2 separate regions of the Homo sapiens genome follow, and region 2 is linked to region 1. The links are contacts of gene promoters, found by promoter capture Hi-C in blood cells and fetal thymus (Javierre and others, 2016). All regions are on one chromosome and are shown on one strand. The core of a region is centred on a gene start or on the middle of the fragment in contact, and the rest is flanking DNA. Distances in the headings are between cores, read along the strand shown.

What was found. The method cuts DNA at HindIII sites, captures the fragments that hold promoters and counts their contacts. A CHiCAGO score of 5 or more calls a contact.
Region 2: a fragment that was not itself captured here is called in contact with the fragment with the promoter of LINC03102 in region 1 in 1 of 17 cell types (naive CD8 T cells); the score reaches 5.4 in naive CD8 T cells.

The regions. Positions count from the first base shown.
Region 1 is chr1:70,356,485-70,364,260 of GRCh38, forward strand. LINC03102 (long intergenic non-protein coding RNA 3102) reads right to left here and starts at 3,953. Exons shown (of 2, transcript NR_183713.1): 1 at 3,813-3,953; 2 at 3,075-3,511. All of the region lies in intron 1 of ANKRD13C-DT (ANKRD13C divergent transcript), which reads left to right. RefSeq lists an enhancer at 2,589-2,648 and a silencer at 3,885-4,078. The HindIII fragment of the contact is 2,416 bases long and covers 2,477-4,892 here.
Region 2 is chr1:70,246,062-70,252,919 of GRCh38, forward strand. SRSF11 (serine and arginine rich splicing factor 11) reads left to right here. Exons shown (of 12, transcript NM_001350605.2): 9 at 757-846; 10 at 3,891-3,986; 11 at 4,304-4,442; 12 at 4,547-6,858. The coding sequence ends at 4,744. Among named protein-coding and RNA genes, the nearest start is that of SRSF11, 28 kb to the left of the region's middle. The HindIII fragment of the contact is 418 bases long and covers 2,925-3,342 here.

The sequences.
Region 1 (7,776 bases), core at 2,703-5,202:
CTTTGGGAGGCTGAGGCGGGCAGATCACGAGGTCAGGAGTTCGAGACCAGCCTGGCCAATATGGTGAAACCCTGTCTTTACTAAAAATACAAAAATTAGCTGGGCGTGGTGGCTTGTGCCCGTACTCGCAGCTACTCGAGAGGCTGAGGCAGAAGAATCGCTTGAACCCAGGAGGCGGGGGCTGCAGTGAGCTGAGATTGTGCCCCTGCACTCCAGCCTGGGGACAGAGTGAGACTCTGTCCAAAAAAAAAAAGGAATAGTCTTTTTAGAGATCTTTAAACAGGGAATAGCATAATGCAATCACCTTTATAGAAAATTCAGTGACTCAGGCCGAACGCAGTGGCTCATGCCTGTAATCCCAGCACTTTGGAAGGCTGAGGCGGGTGGATCACTTGAGGTCAGGAGTTCAAACCAGCCTGGGCAACATGGTGAAACCCTGTCTCTACTAAAAATACAAAAATTAGCCGGGCATGATGGTGGGTGCCTGTAGTCCCAACTACTCGGGAGGCTGAGGCAGGAGAATCGGTTGAACCTGGGAGGTGGAGGTTGCAGTGAGCCAAGATCGTGTAATTGCACTCCAGCCTGGGTGACAAGAGCAAAACTTGGTCTCAAAAAAAAAAAAAAATTAAAAAAAAGAAAATTCAGTCACTCATACTTTAGAGAAGTATGCATCAAGAACAGAACTTTAAAGAAGTATGCAGTAAATCAGATGATGAGAGCATGAACCAAGTTAGTAAGAGTGAGGCAGAAAAAGGTTTAAGAGGTTTTTAAAAATGAGTTCAATCTTAGCATATTGAGTTGAAAGTTGCTTATCTGTAGGGAGTTAGATGTTCTACATTTTAGATATTTGCAAGTGATCCTTAGGTAACAGAGAACTAGGTATGGGCTGGATTCAGAAGTTATCATTACACAGTAATTAATGCTCCAGAAGTGGGTGAGTTCCCCAAAGAAAAGTTTATAGAATGAGAAATTAAGAAGGTCCATATAGAACAAAATCTTGAAAACACCAATATTCAAAGCGTGTGTATAGGGTAAGTGGCCAGCATCCTATTACTAAAAACCTACACCAAATAATATCCCGTTATACTTGTGAAGTATTCTATCACTAGAGTCTGAATTTGAAATTTCTTTATTAGTGGCTGTCACCCATGGATGTCACCCATGGAATGTGGAAACTCATAAGTATCCCTCCAGTAAAATCAAACACCATACATATCAAAAATAATATTCAGGCCAGGTGTGGTAGCTCATACCTGTAATCCCAACACTTTGAAAGGCCAAAGCAGGAGGATCACTTGAGGTCAGGGGTTTGAAACCAGCCTGGGCAACATAGTGAAACCCCATCTCTATCAAAAAATATAAAATATTAGCCACCTGTGGTGCTAAACACCTGCAGTCCCAGCTACTCAAGAGGCTGGGGTGGGAGATCCACTTGAGCCTGGGAGTCCAAGGCTGCAGTGAACTAGGATTGCACTACTGCACACCAGCCTAAGTGACAGGTATCCTGTCTTTAAAAATAAATAAATAAATAAATAAATATCATCCTTTTTTATTTTTTATTTTATTTTATTTTTGAGACAGAGTTTTGTTCCCGTTGCCCATGCTGGAATGCAATGGTGTGGTCTCAGCTCACTGCAACCTCCGCCTCCTGGGTTCAAGCAATTCTCCTGCCTCAGCCTCCCAAGTAGTTGGCATTACAGGTCTCCACCACCATGCCAAGCTAATTTTTGTATTTTTAATAGAGATGGGGTTTCACCATGTTGGCCAGGCTGAGTCTCGAACTTCTGACCTCAGGTGATCCGCCCACCTCGGCCTCCCAAAGTGCTGGGATTACAGGCATGAGCCACCACACCAAGACTTATTTTTTGTTGTTTTTTGAGTCTCATTTTGTCAGCTAGGCTGGAGTGCAGTGGCATGATCTCAGCTCACTGCAACTTCCACCTCCCATGCTCAAGTGGATCCTCCCGCCTCAGCCTCCCAAGTGCTGGGACTACAGGGCCCAGCTAATTTTTGTATTTTTTTGTAGAGACTGGGTTTGGCCATGTCACCCAGGCTAGTCTCAAACTCCTGGACTCAAGCCATCTACCCACCTCGGCTTCCTGAAGTGTTGGGATTACAGGTGTGAGCTACTGCCCCCAGCCCATTCATTATTATTATTATTTTTTATAGAGGCCGTGTCTCACTATGTTGGTCAGGCTGGTCTTGAACTCCTGGGCCCAGGTGATCCTTCCACCTCAGCCTCCCAAAGTGCTGAGATGACAGGTGTGAGCCACTGCACTTGGCCCCATCCATTATTTTTAAGGGCTTGTAAAAATGACAGAAATGTAAGATTACAATATATTATAAAAAAGATAGAAATATGATTGTAATACATTATGAAAAATACAAGGATTGAAATTATATAAGCTCCCAATACAATATAGAAAAGGAAGTCATTAATTCTATTTGGGGAAAATAGAAATTGGATGATCAGAAAAGCTTTCTGGGGCTGGGCGTGGTAGCTCATGCCTGTAATCCCAGCACTTTGGAAGGCCGAGGTGGGCAAGTCACTTGAGGTCAGGAGTTCAAGATCAGCCTGACCAACATGGTGAAACCCCATTTCTACTGAAAAATACAAAAAGAATCAGCCAGGCATGGTGACGTCTGCTTGTAGTCCCAGCTGCTCGGGAGGCTGAGGCAGGAGAATGGCTTGAACCCAGGAGGCAAAGGTTGCAGTGAGATTGCACCACTGCACACCAGCCTGGGCGATAGAGCGAGACTCTGTCTAAAAAAATAAATAAATAAATAAAAGAATTACATCAAATTTTATCCCTTCTTAGCACAAATTTTTTTTTAACTTGGCATAGAATTCAGAGCCAGGAAATTGTGTTGAACTAACTTTCCAAATAAAATTTAGCATGTCATTCTATTATGAACGTATGCCACAAACCACAATAGTATTAGCATTAGTAGTACCTGTGACTTCACAACCAAAAAAACCACAGGTATTTTCATTTCACATAACAGTTGCTGCAGACAACTCAAAATTTCATTTATAGTCATTAGTACCTCTAAAATTATCTTAATAGGTATGCTCATTGCTATATCTTGTTCTTTAATTAGTTAATAAAGAAGCATATACATTACTGTATTACAAATTTGCTTTTAAAATATTTTGTTAGGTATTTCAATACTCAGAGTTTCCTTTTAATCCAAAATATTTTATGCATTTAAAAACACTGTTCTGAAAATGGGTCCCTGGGTTTCTCCACACTGCCAAAGAGTCAATGGCACAAAAACAGAAGTTAGGAACTTCTTCTTAGGAATCTTTGATGATACCTGCCCATTCGTCTCCTTTTCTCTCCTATCCAACAAACCCATCGTTCTGAATTAGGTGTCCCTCCTTTGTCTTCTTTTTGATTTCCCATTGTAACTTCTGCATGCCTCCTTGATATTCTTGTCTGGTCTCAACTAATCCTTGGAGCTCTCTGAGCACTGGAATCATGCTGATCATTGCTGTATGCACAGTGCCCTACAGGGAGTGAATGCTTATATTAATAATAAGCAGTTGTTGAATTAATCAGTCTATTAGAACACAAAACCCCAAGTATCTACAAGGTACTAAGACAACTGCAGACTCAGTAATGAGATGCTAAATAAACTTCTTAAATAATCCCAATATAACTACACTGAAATTAGCTGCTACACTCTTGAATTCTTACATGAAGCCAAAGAGTAGATATATCATTTAGGACTTTTTGTTTTTCATGTAGAAGTAACAATAAATTCAATTGAAACAGGGTTAAATTAAAGGAATGTATTGACTTACATACCAGAAAGGTGCAGAGATAAGTCTTCAAGAGTGGCCCCTCAGGATCCCATGTCAGTTTTTCAGTGAATCTCTCGGTGTTTCTCTCTGTATGAGGAGTCCTCCTCAGGCCTGCTTCCTTCAAGAACACAAGATAACTGCCAGCAGGTAAAAGCAGCCACGTGCTTCCTCCTTAAGGTCCAAAGGAGTTCCTGCTCCCACATAAATCTGGAGTATGACAGTTACAAGATAACTCAGTCCAATCTGTGTCCCAGAGAACGGTGATTGGCTCAAGCCTGGGTTATCTGACAAACCCCTGTGAAGGAGGGGTTACTCAGATTAGTTTCACCCAATCAGGATTGATCTCGGAGCCGGAGGTGGGGCCCAGCTCTCCAAACAGTGAACTGTTTCATAATGGGAATGAGGTGGGGAATAATGTTGGAGAGACAAATGCAAGAGTGGTCAGCAAAAGTACTATATCCAAAGACTTAAAACAGGATTTTGCTTCAAAAAAATCTGTTATCACAGTGTCTTGAATTCAATATGATAAAATATGTAGTGATTATCAATTATATCAATATGTAATGAGTAAATAACTTCACTGGTAAACACTGTATTTACTTTTTATTCAAATTTTACAAGATAGAATGCAATCCATCAATTCAAGTATAGAACTAAACTACTGGCCAGGCGCAGTGGCTCACGCCTGTAATCCCAGCACTTTGGGAGGCTGAGGCGGGTGGATCACCTGAGGCCAGGAGTTCGAGACCAGCCTGGCCAACATGGCGAAACCCCGTCTCTACTAAAAATACAAAAATTAGCCGGACGTGGTGGTGGACCCCTATAATCCAAGCTACCTGGGAGGCTGAGGCAGGAGAATCGCTTGAACCTGGGAGGCAGAGGTTGCAGTGAGCCGAGATTGTGCCATTGCACTCCTGCCTGGGCAACAGAGCTAGACTCCATGCCAAAAGGAAAAAAAAAAAAACCCTGAGAACTAAACTACTGAATTTGCTAGGTAATACTCTGTAGTTCTACAAATTAGCAAATTAATTTCTCTCCTGGTGTAGTTAACTCAATAATGCTCAATTTGCCTTGAATAGCAAAAAGCTTCTGAAAAATGAATGTTTTTCAACTTTTTCTAATGAGAGTTTTGTTAGATAGTTATGTGCTCACCAACACCAAACACTGACTAGACAGTTAAATCTGTCTCTAAGAAAGAACGTTGTGAATTTTGCCAGAAATTTATGTATCTCTATTAGCCCTACACAAAGCACCTAATCCCTGTCCTGGTGTCTTCATTTAACAAAAGCAGTAGTATGGTAACATGAAATACAGAACAGCAGTACTGTACAAAATAAAATCTCACTCGTTATATTTTTTAAATATATCAACAGACTTCCAATTAGGATCTGTAGTTACTAACCTTACTCAATTCTCATTGCATTGCATACTAATAATGTTTCTAATGTAAATATTAGTGCAAGTTTAGTCTACATCTTTTTTCTTTCATCTTCTCTGAAGATTTGTGTTTTATATTCTCACAATAATCTGGAATATGATTTCCTACATTCCACAATGGTTGAACAAGATCTAGGAGTATTTTGTTTGATAGATGATAGGGCTATCTAACTAATGAGGTAATTGTCTCTGAAATCTGACGACACAGCAGTACACTGACAGATGAAAATAACAAACCATGTAAATCAATACTTAATTCACACATTTTACTTCCATCTCCCTGGGTCTCAGTATTTTTCTCTTTCCTCTAAATCTGCCCCCTTCCTTTCTCAGAGGCAATGCAGAGCACTTTCCCTTTCTTCTACGGTTTCTGATCAGTGGTTATCAGTGATTTTGTAAAATTTCTCTTAAGTAATCAGAAAAAAAATCTGAGAAGCAGGGGTTGCCAAGGAAACCAGAGCCAATAACAGCTGGAAGTTCCTGAAGGAAGAAATTCCTTTGAGACAGATAAAACCTACAGACTGATTTGGAGGAAGAAGGAGAAAAAATGCCAGGAGCACAGTGAAAGGCTGAGTCAATGAGATGAAAAGGAAAAGATAAAGTGAAACATTCATAATTAAAATTATTTTTAGATCGACAAAGGCTAGAAACAAGAGAATTAGAACAGAGACAGGAATGGGTTTTTTAGTGAAAGAAGAGGTTAAGACACAATGGGTAGGCCCAACACTTTGGAAGACCGAGGCAGGCGGATCACTTGGGGCCAGGAGTTCGAGACCAGACTGGCCAACATGACGAAAACCCATCTCTACTAAAAATATAAAAATTAGCCAGGCTTGGTGGTACATGCCTATAATCCCAGTTACTACAGAGGCCGAGCAGGAGAAATGCTTGAACCTGGCAAGCGGAGGTTACAGTGAGCCGAGATCCAGCCTGGGTGACAGGGCAAGACTGTCTCAAAAAAAAAAAAAAGGCACAATGGGTAGTGTGTAAGAGATTAAATGGTATAGATAGACAAGGGTCAGTACATGTGTCCATAGCTTCCTGAATATGTTTTATTTTAAATTACTTTATTGCTCAGAATATATGTAACTACATCTGTATCTGTAGTCTAAATACTCCGGGCTGGGCGCAGTGGCTCACGCCTATAATCCTAGCACTTGGGGAGGCCGAGGCGGGTGGATCACCTGTGGTCAGGAGTTCGAGACCAGCCTGGCCAACATGGCCAAACCCCATATTGTATTTTTAGTCTCTCCTAAAAATACAAAAATTAGCTGGGCGTGGTGGCAGGCGCTTGTAATCCCAGCTACTCGGAAGGCTGAGGCAGGAGAATCACTTTTACCTGGGGGCAGAGGTTGCGGTAAGCCGAGATCATGCCACTGCCCTCCAGCCTGGGTGACAGAGCAAGACTCCATCTCAAAAATAAAATAAAATAAAAATTCCTCAAGAACAACTAACTCAAAACTTCCAAAATGAAACTCATCTCCATCAGCAATCTCACTGACCAAATCCATATTTCACTTCTCATTACCTTTGACTCCTCCCTTGCCATGAGGCAGGAAAATAGGGTCTGGAGGCAGGGAACACAAGGCCAATTCACACTTCAGCTATGACAGGAAATATCCTCTCTATGAGATGTATGCTGTAAATAACTTTGTAATTTTACTTCATCCTCTCCATTTACATAGGGTGTAACACAAGTAACCAATGGAATCCTCTAGGGGGTATTTACACTCCCCAAAAAATCTGTAACAGGTCCTTTGAACCCCTATGCTGCTCCCACGCTGTGGAGTGTACTTTCATTTTCAATAAAACCCTTCATTCTTCCTTGCTTTGTTTGTGCGTTTTGTCCAATTCTTTGTTCAAGATGCCAAGAACCTGGACCCCCTCCACTGTTAACAGCCATAAACCCCACATTCAGCCAGTCACAAAATCTTGACCTTTCTACCTACTGCAGAGCTCTAAAATGGAACTCTTTCTCTTGATTTTTCCACTGCCGATGAAGAGTCAAACTCTGTCAAATATTTGAAGAGATTTCTTCTGAATCAAATATGAGGACAGCCCTCAGGAGGTCCTGAGAACATGTGCCCCAGGTAGTCGGGTGCAGCTTAGTTTTATACATTTTAGGGAGGCACGAGACATTAACCAAACACATTTAAGAAATACATTGGTTTGGTCCAGAAAGGCAGAACAACTTGAGGTGGTGAGGGAGACTTCAGGCTATCGGTAAATTTATTTGTTTTTGTTTTGTTTTGTTTTGTTTTGTTTGAGACGAGTCTCCCTGGGACATCCAGGCTGGAGTACAATGGTATCTCGGCTCACTGCAACCTCAGCTTCTTGGGTTCAAGCAATTCTCCTGCCTCAGCCTCCCGAATAGCTGGGACTACAGGCGTGTGCCACCATGCCTGGCTAATTTTTATATTTTCAGTAGAGACGGGGTTTCACCATATTGGCCAGGCTGTTCTTGAACTCCTGACCTCAAGTGATCCGCCTGCCTTGGCCTCCCAAAGTGCTGGGATTACAGGCCTGAGTCA
Region 2 (6,858 bases), core at 1,884-4,383, 110 kb before region 1:
AGAATGGAAAGATTAGCTTAGAACAGTAAGAGAGGGATACTTTGATTCTTAAAATTAGAGAATAGTTAAAGAGGGGGGTTGTTATGAGACTTCTCATTCAACAAATATATATCGTTTATCTACTCTTTGCTTAGAGTCTTGGGGAGAATGATGATCTTGGGGAAAAAATATTGTGAGGAGTAAAAATTTATAGGAATCTGTAAAAAAAAAAAATTGAGTTACGGCTGTAGTCAAAATCTGTTGATATTTTCTAATAAGCCCTGAATAGTTCATAATAGCCGCAGAAAAAGAAGCTTGCTTGATCCATGATAGAGGTTGACATGGGATGTGTGTCTTGGAAGAATATTCATGATATTGATGGATTTTGGTAGTGCTCTATGGGTTTTGGCCTGATAGGAGAGGTGGGTTGGGAAAGTGGTAATCAGCTGAGAGAAAAAGGAGTCTTGAGGAGCCTAGAGATAGTTAACTTATTGGTGTTTACCAAGTATATTTCAAGCCAACATCCTAGTTATTTTCTCACCCATAGTCTACTTTAGTCTACTTGGGAGAAAACCTAGGATAATAGGATTTTAAAAGAAGTTATTGTACTTCAAATATGCCACATAAAGTATTATTTTTAAAACAGTTTCTGTCAGAACAACATTTATGCTTTTAAGGATGGGATTAGATCTGATTATATTTTTGTGTTTGTAGTGCTATATAAATTGGCATCAGCTGAGTCTTCTAATGCATTCATAAATTGTGTTCATTTGTTAGAGACAAAAAGAAAGAAGACAAAGAAAAGAAACGTTCTAAAACACCACCAAAAAGTTACAGCACAGCCAGACGTTCTAGAAGTGCAAGCAGGTAAGGTGGCATTGTGAATTCTTGGCAATTATTTTTTTAACTTTGCTTCTAACAGTATCAGTACGCTGTCAGTATGAAGTCTTTTCCAGAACATAAGTATTTCAGTGTTGAAAAAAGTTACATTTTGCTGTTATTTAAAGTTTTTAAAAGGCAATTTGTGAAGAATAATGTAGTTTATTTTTCTTTTTACTTAATATTTTATGGTCTAGAGTATATTTGAAGTAACATGGAATTCAAGAGAGGTGAGTTTTTCTCTTTATAGTTTAAGTTTTAATGGCTAAACCATACTGAATTGTTCCATTAAGTAAGCTTATTATAGTAAGCTATATTTATCATCTGCATGTTAGTACTTGAGAATTTTTCTATCCCTTTTAATGACTGTTGAATTAATGGGAAGCAATGCAGGTTCTGGTTTGTGTCATTCTTAGACTAATTCTATCTTTAAGCTGTCAGTGAAAATTGAAATGTTGCAGACCTTACTGCACAAAAAGCACATTTTCATACTTAATTTGGGATTTATATGATAGTAAGGGCTGGACTTCATTCCATTTTTCAGATCTCATTCACATGTTTTGCTGCAGTGCTTGTTTTATTCATCAACATTACTTAAATTCACTAGGAGAAGGTTCATGCCATATAAAAAAAAATAACTGAAATGTATAAAAGACCTAAATGTAAGAGCCAAAACTATAAAACCTTTAGAAAGAAACAAAAGTGAATCTTTAAGACCATGAGCTTGGTGGTTTCCTAGATATGACTTCAAAAGCATAAGCAACAGAAGAAAAGAAAATTTTGGAATTCACCAAAAGTTAAAACATTTGTATTTCAAAGGATACTATCAAGAAAGTAAAAACCTAGAGTGCTAGTTAGAAAATTCTTTATATATTCTCTATTAAGAACTCTTAGAACTCAGCAATAGACAGGCAACCCAATTTAAAAATGGCAAAGAATCTGTAGCCATTACTCCAAAGGAGATATGCAAATATCTAGTAAGTACATAAAATCTGTTCAACATCATTAGTCACCAAGGAAATACAAACCAGACCACAGTGAGATATGTCACAGTCACTAGGATGGTTATAAATCAAAAAGACAGATGATAGCTGAGCCTGACAGATGATAGTAAGTGTTGATTAGGATGTGGAGAAATTAGAACCCTGTGCATTGCTAGTATGAATATAAACTGGTACAGGTGTTTTAGAAAACAGTCTGGCATTTCCTAAAAATGTTAAACATAGAGGTTTTTGACCCACCAGTTGTACCCCTGGGGGAAAATGAAAACATTTTCACAGAAAAACTTTTATGTGAATGTTTGTGGCATTATTTCATAATAGCCAAAAAGTTAACTATCCATTAACAAATGGATAAACAGAATGGTATATCTATACAATTGAATATTTTTCAGTGATAAATAAGGTTGATACATGCTACAGTATGGATGAAACTTGCAAACATCCATGAAAGGCCGTGTATTGCGTGATTCCTTTTATATGAAATGCCCAGAATAGGCAAATCTATAAAGATACCAAGTAGATTACTGATTGCTGGGGAGATAGGGAGGATTAGAGTGATAACTAAAGGGTAGGGAGTTTTTGGGGTGGTGAAAATTTTCTTAAAAACTAAATTTTTAAGCATGAAAATGAAACCAAATGTAAGTACAGAAGGAAATGCTGAATCAGGCCTGAGGGATAGGTGGCAAAGAGATAGAAAAGATGGAAGGTACTACATATATTTTCTTACCTTAAAAACTGTTGAGGATTTTTTTTTTTACCTGTTGCTTTATATAATGTACTTGTAAGTGCCTTCTCATGCTGTATTATTGGATCACTCTAAATTAAGGCATCTTCTGTGAGTTATTAAATACCCACTGTGTTTGTAGTTGTGCTACAGTCTGTTGAAGGACACGGAAATGTAATATAAAATACTTCTTCCGTCTAGAGAATTTGGAGTTTCAGTTACATAAGACAGTAGCAAAAAGTATAAGGTGCACAGTCGTGACAATGTTTGATAAGTGAATGCTCAGTTATGTGTAACGTTTCCAGGACAAGGGTCACAGAGGGCTGTGTAAGTAGAAAAAAAGCTTCATTTGGAAATTAGACAACTAAGTACAGGGTTTTTTAAGTCTGATAACTTTTGAGAATCAGGAACAGAATTTTTTTTTTTAAGTTACAGTAAAAAGGAGGGGAAGGCTGTATATCAGCTGTATATCTTCAAAGTAATTGGTGAAAGCAGGGTTTTGGGGGACTGCAGGAGGGCGATTTTGCTAGAGTATAAGGTTTCTACCTTTCCACTAACTAGTTCTCTGAATTTCATCTAATGATTTAAAGGTGAATGTGGGGATATTTTATTAGTAACTACCTTCTATATCACATTATTGAATTATTCTGTACTTACTCTGAACACTGAATGTTTGAACCAAAAACTAACTTCTTCAGTAATAGTTTACTTCACACGTCACCCCTCTCGCATTAGTTTTGTTAAATCAGTTTTTTCTCAAGCTTAGTATTTCTAACATTTTGTCATCAATTAAAAGAATTACTAGAAATTAGGAGTTTTCTTGAGGGTAGTAAAGGGAAAGATTCATGGTTTGCAGATGATTATATTACTCATTTAATTGTTTAGCTTATACCAGTATTGTGAAACAATCTTTCATTTTTCTGTTTTTTTGAGACAGGGTCTCTCTCTGTTGCCCAGGCTGGAGTGCAGTGGCCCTATCACAACTCACTCCAGCTTCAACCTCCGCAGGCTCAAGTGATCTTCCTGCCTCTGCCTCCTGAGTAGCTGGGACTACAGGCATGCACCACCACACCTGGCTAATTTTTTTGTATTTTTTGTAGAGACAGAGTTTCACCATGTTGCCCAGGCTGGTCTGGAACTCCTGGGCTCAAGCAATCCCCTCACCTCAGCCTGCCAAAGTGCTGGGATTATAGGCATGAGCCACTACATCTGGCCACATCTTTCATTGTTAGAATCATCTATGATGTGTCTGCATTTTTAAGATCACACTGTATTTTAAAACCTAGTTTGCACATTTGTGATTCTAGAGAGAGACGACGACGAAGAAGCAGGAGTGGCACAAGATCTCCTAAAAAGCCTCGGTCTCCTAAAAGAAAATTGTCCCGCTCACCATCCCCTAGGAGGTAAGAATGTTAATCATTTAAATGTATTTTTTATATTTTTCAGAGGTTTTTCATTTTAAAACTGTCCTGTAGTTTTTCTTTTCAGCAGTTACAGTTCTTAAGAATGTTTTAATGTATTCTCCTTCTGACTTGTGACTTAAACACCATTAAGGACTGAACATTTTAGTCCTATAAACAAGTTAGTTTTGTAGCCTGTGTTACTTCTCCAAGGTTTTGAAGTTGGATCTTTGCTGTACTACTTATATCCTGTGAAATTGAGTCAGGCTCATCATCTAAACAAGTTAAACCTGTTGCTGTACATTTTACTGTCATTCTAGACATAAAAAGGAGAAGAAGAAAGATAAAGACAAAGAAAGAAGTAGGGATGAAAGAGAACGATCAACAAGCAAGAAGAAGAAGAGTAAAGATAAGGAAAAGGACCGGGAAAGAAAATCAGAGAGTGATAAAGATGTAAAAGTATGTTTACAAATTGATTTATTTTTATATTTGGGGTGATGTTGGTACTTTCAGAAGTTATTTTTCTTTGGAGAAGTTTACTTTTATTATTCTCCTTGGCAAAGCAGGTTACACGGGATTATGATGAAGAGGAACAGGGGTATGACAGTGAGAAAGAGAAAAAAGAAGAGAAGAAACCAATAGAAACAGGTTCCCCTAAAACAAAGGAATGTTCTGTGGAAAAGGGAACTGGTGATTCACTAAGAGAATCCAAAGTGAATGGGGATGATCATCATGAAGAAGACATGGATATGAGTGACTGAATATTGCCTCTGAGGGAGTCCAACTGTATACCTGCATCAGTGTCATTCCTTTGTGTGATTTCTTAATGCTGTATTTGTTCATCTCAAACCTAGATGTATACAGCTCTGAGTTATAAATGGTTATAAAGCTCCTGTTACTCATATTAGTTATTTACATCAAAAAGCTTTTAGAAAATGGTACGAGGTAACCAATTCTTGTCATGGTGAAATCTGATTGAGTAACCAAGCAGTTTTACTATTCTGGTGCTGCTTCATAACAAAAATGAAAAGCTGCATGCATCTACAGCAGGCATGGATTGTTTATGTCGTATGATATCCTTTATTAAGTAAGTTCACTTATAGTATTTCTATAATTTGATTCATTGCCGTAATAGAGCCATGTAGGAAATGCACTGATTGCATGTTATTGTGGCAAGAATATCCTAAATGTCATTAAAATCCTCCAACATGATGGATCTACTTATGGTCTTGTTTGTTGACATGACAAATTAACATTCTTATAGTTACATCTGGAAATGAGCATTTGAAATAGATAATCCTTTAAGCCTTGTGGCAAAATTTTTGTGGCTTTTGTTTAACTTTGAAAGGTTATTATGCACTAACCTTTTTTGGTGGCTAATTAGGGTTTAAATACAGAAACAAGATTTCAAATAAAACTGTCTTTGGCAGTGAGTAAATAGCATATTTTGAAGTAGAGTTGTATACTTTTTCATAAGATGTTTGGGAATTTTTTTCCTGAAGTAATAATTTATTCCACATCTACATCAGTGAAAGCTATCTACCTATCCTGAGTCTATCTTAAAGGAAAAAAAGAAAAAAACCTTATCTCTTGCCCTTATTTTGAATTTTCCACTCTTTCATTAATTTGTTTTAAGCTCCGTGTTGGAAAAAAGGGGTAGTGCATTTTAAATTGACCTTCATACGCTTTTAAAATAAGACAAATCTACTTGATAATGTACCTTTATTTGATCTCAAGTTGTATAAAACCAATAAATTTGTGTTACTGCAGTAGTAATCTTATGCACACGGTGATTTCATGTTATATATGCAAAGTAGGCAACTGTTTTCTTAGTTACAGAAGTTTCAAGCTTCACTTTTGTGCAGTAGAAACAAAAGTAGGCTACAGTCTGTGCCATGTTGATGTACAGTTTCTGAAATTGTTTTACAAGACTTTGATAATAAAACCCTTAAACTTATGTTCATGTTCCTGTAAAACCGTATTTGTATTTATTTACGCTACTGAATGTATGACATTTACCTCATTCATTTTACAAATTCTTTCCCTTTCTGTCCACATATTTCAGTATAGTAAAAAGAGGAAGTCTATCACTGTAGTGATAATTGCCATCAAAATTGTCAAAAATGATTTAATTTCTATCCAAAATAGTCCTTTTCTTAGCTTAGTATCATTTTATTGCTTATTTTTTGTGTGGGAATGGGGTTGGATAAAGCAATGAACTTTAGTATAAACAAATCCCACCTATATCTAGCAAATTTATATTTTCGGTGAAATACAGATATTTGCCTTTCTGGAGTAGTATAGAAGCTGTCAATATGTATCTACTGTACAGTACTAAATAGTATTCATTTATGAAATGAGTAGTGTTTGGGTGGCTGGGGTTAAGGGAAAATGAGACTTGGAATTGTAGCTTTTATCCAAGTTTTGAGTATAAATAGGGTTTTGTTTTGTTTTTTTTAACCTAAAAACTGAAATGCCATATAGAAAAACAGCATTGTTTTTACAGTTTGTAGTAAGTAACTTTTTAAAGATTTTATCAAAAAGAATTGTCTATAGTGAGTAAAAGAAGTTCTAATAATGGTCCTAATCACTGCATTTTTAAAAAACAAAGTTCAACACAAATGACATTTGTTTTAAACTTTAGTAGATAAAAGGTGAACCATGTGACATGGGCATTTTTGTAAGTCAAAAACAAATTTCACATATGGTAAACCTAATATTCACAGTGTGTTCCCTCACTTGTAATCTCTGAATACAAATATACTAGCTTTTCTAAAGGGAATCATTTTTTTAAAAGTAGTGCCACTGACAAGATGCTACAGTGAAGATTATCCATTCTTAGGATATTTATTTTCAGTGAACATTTTCTGCACAA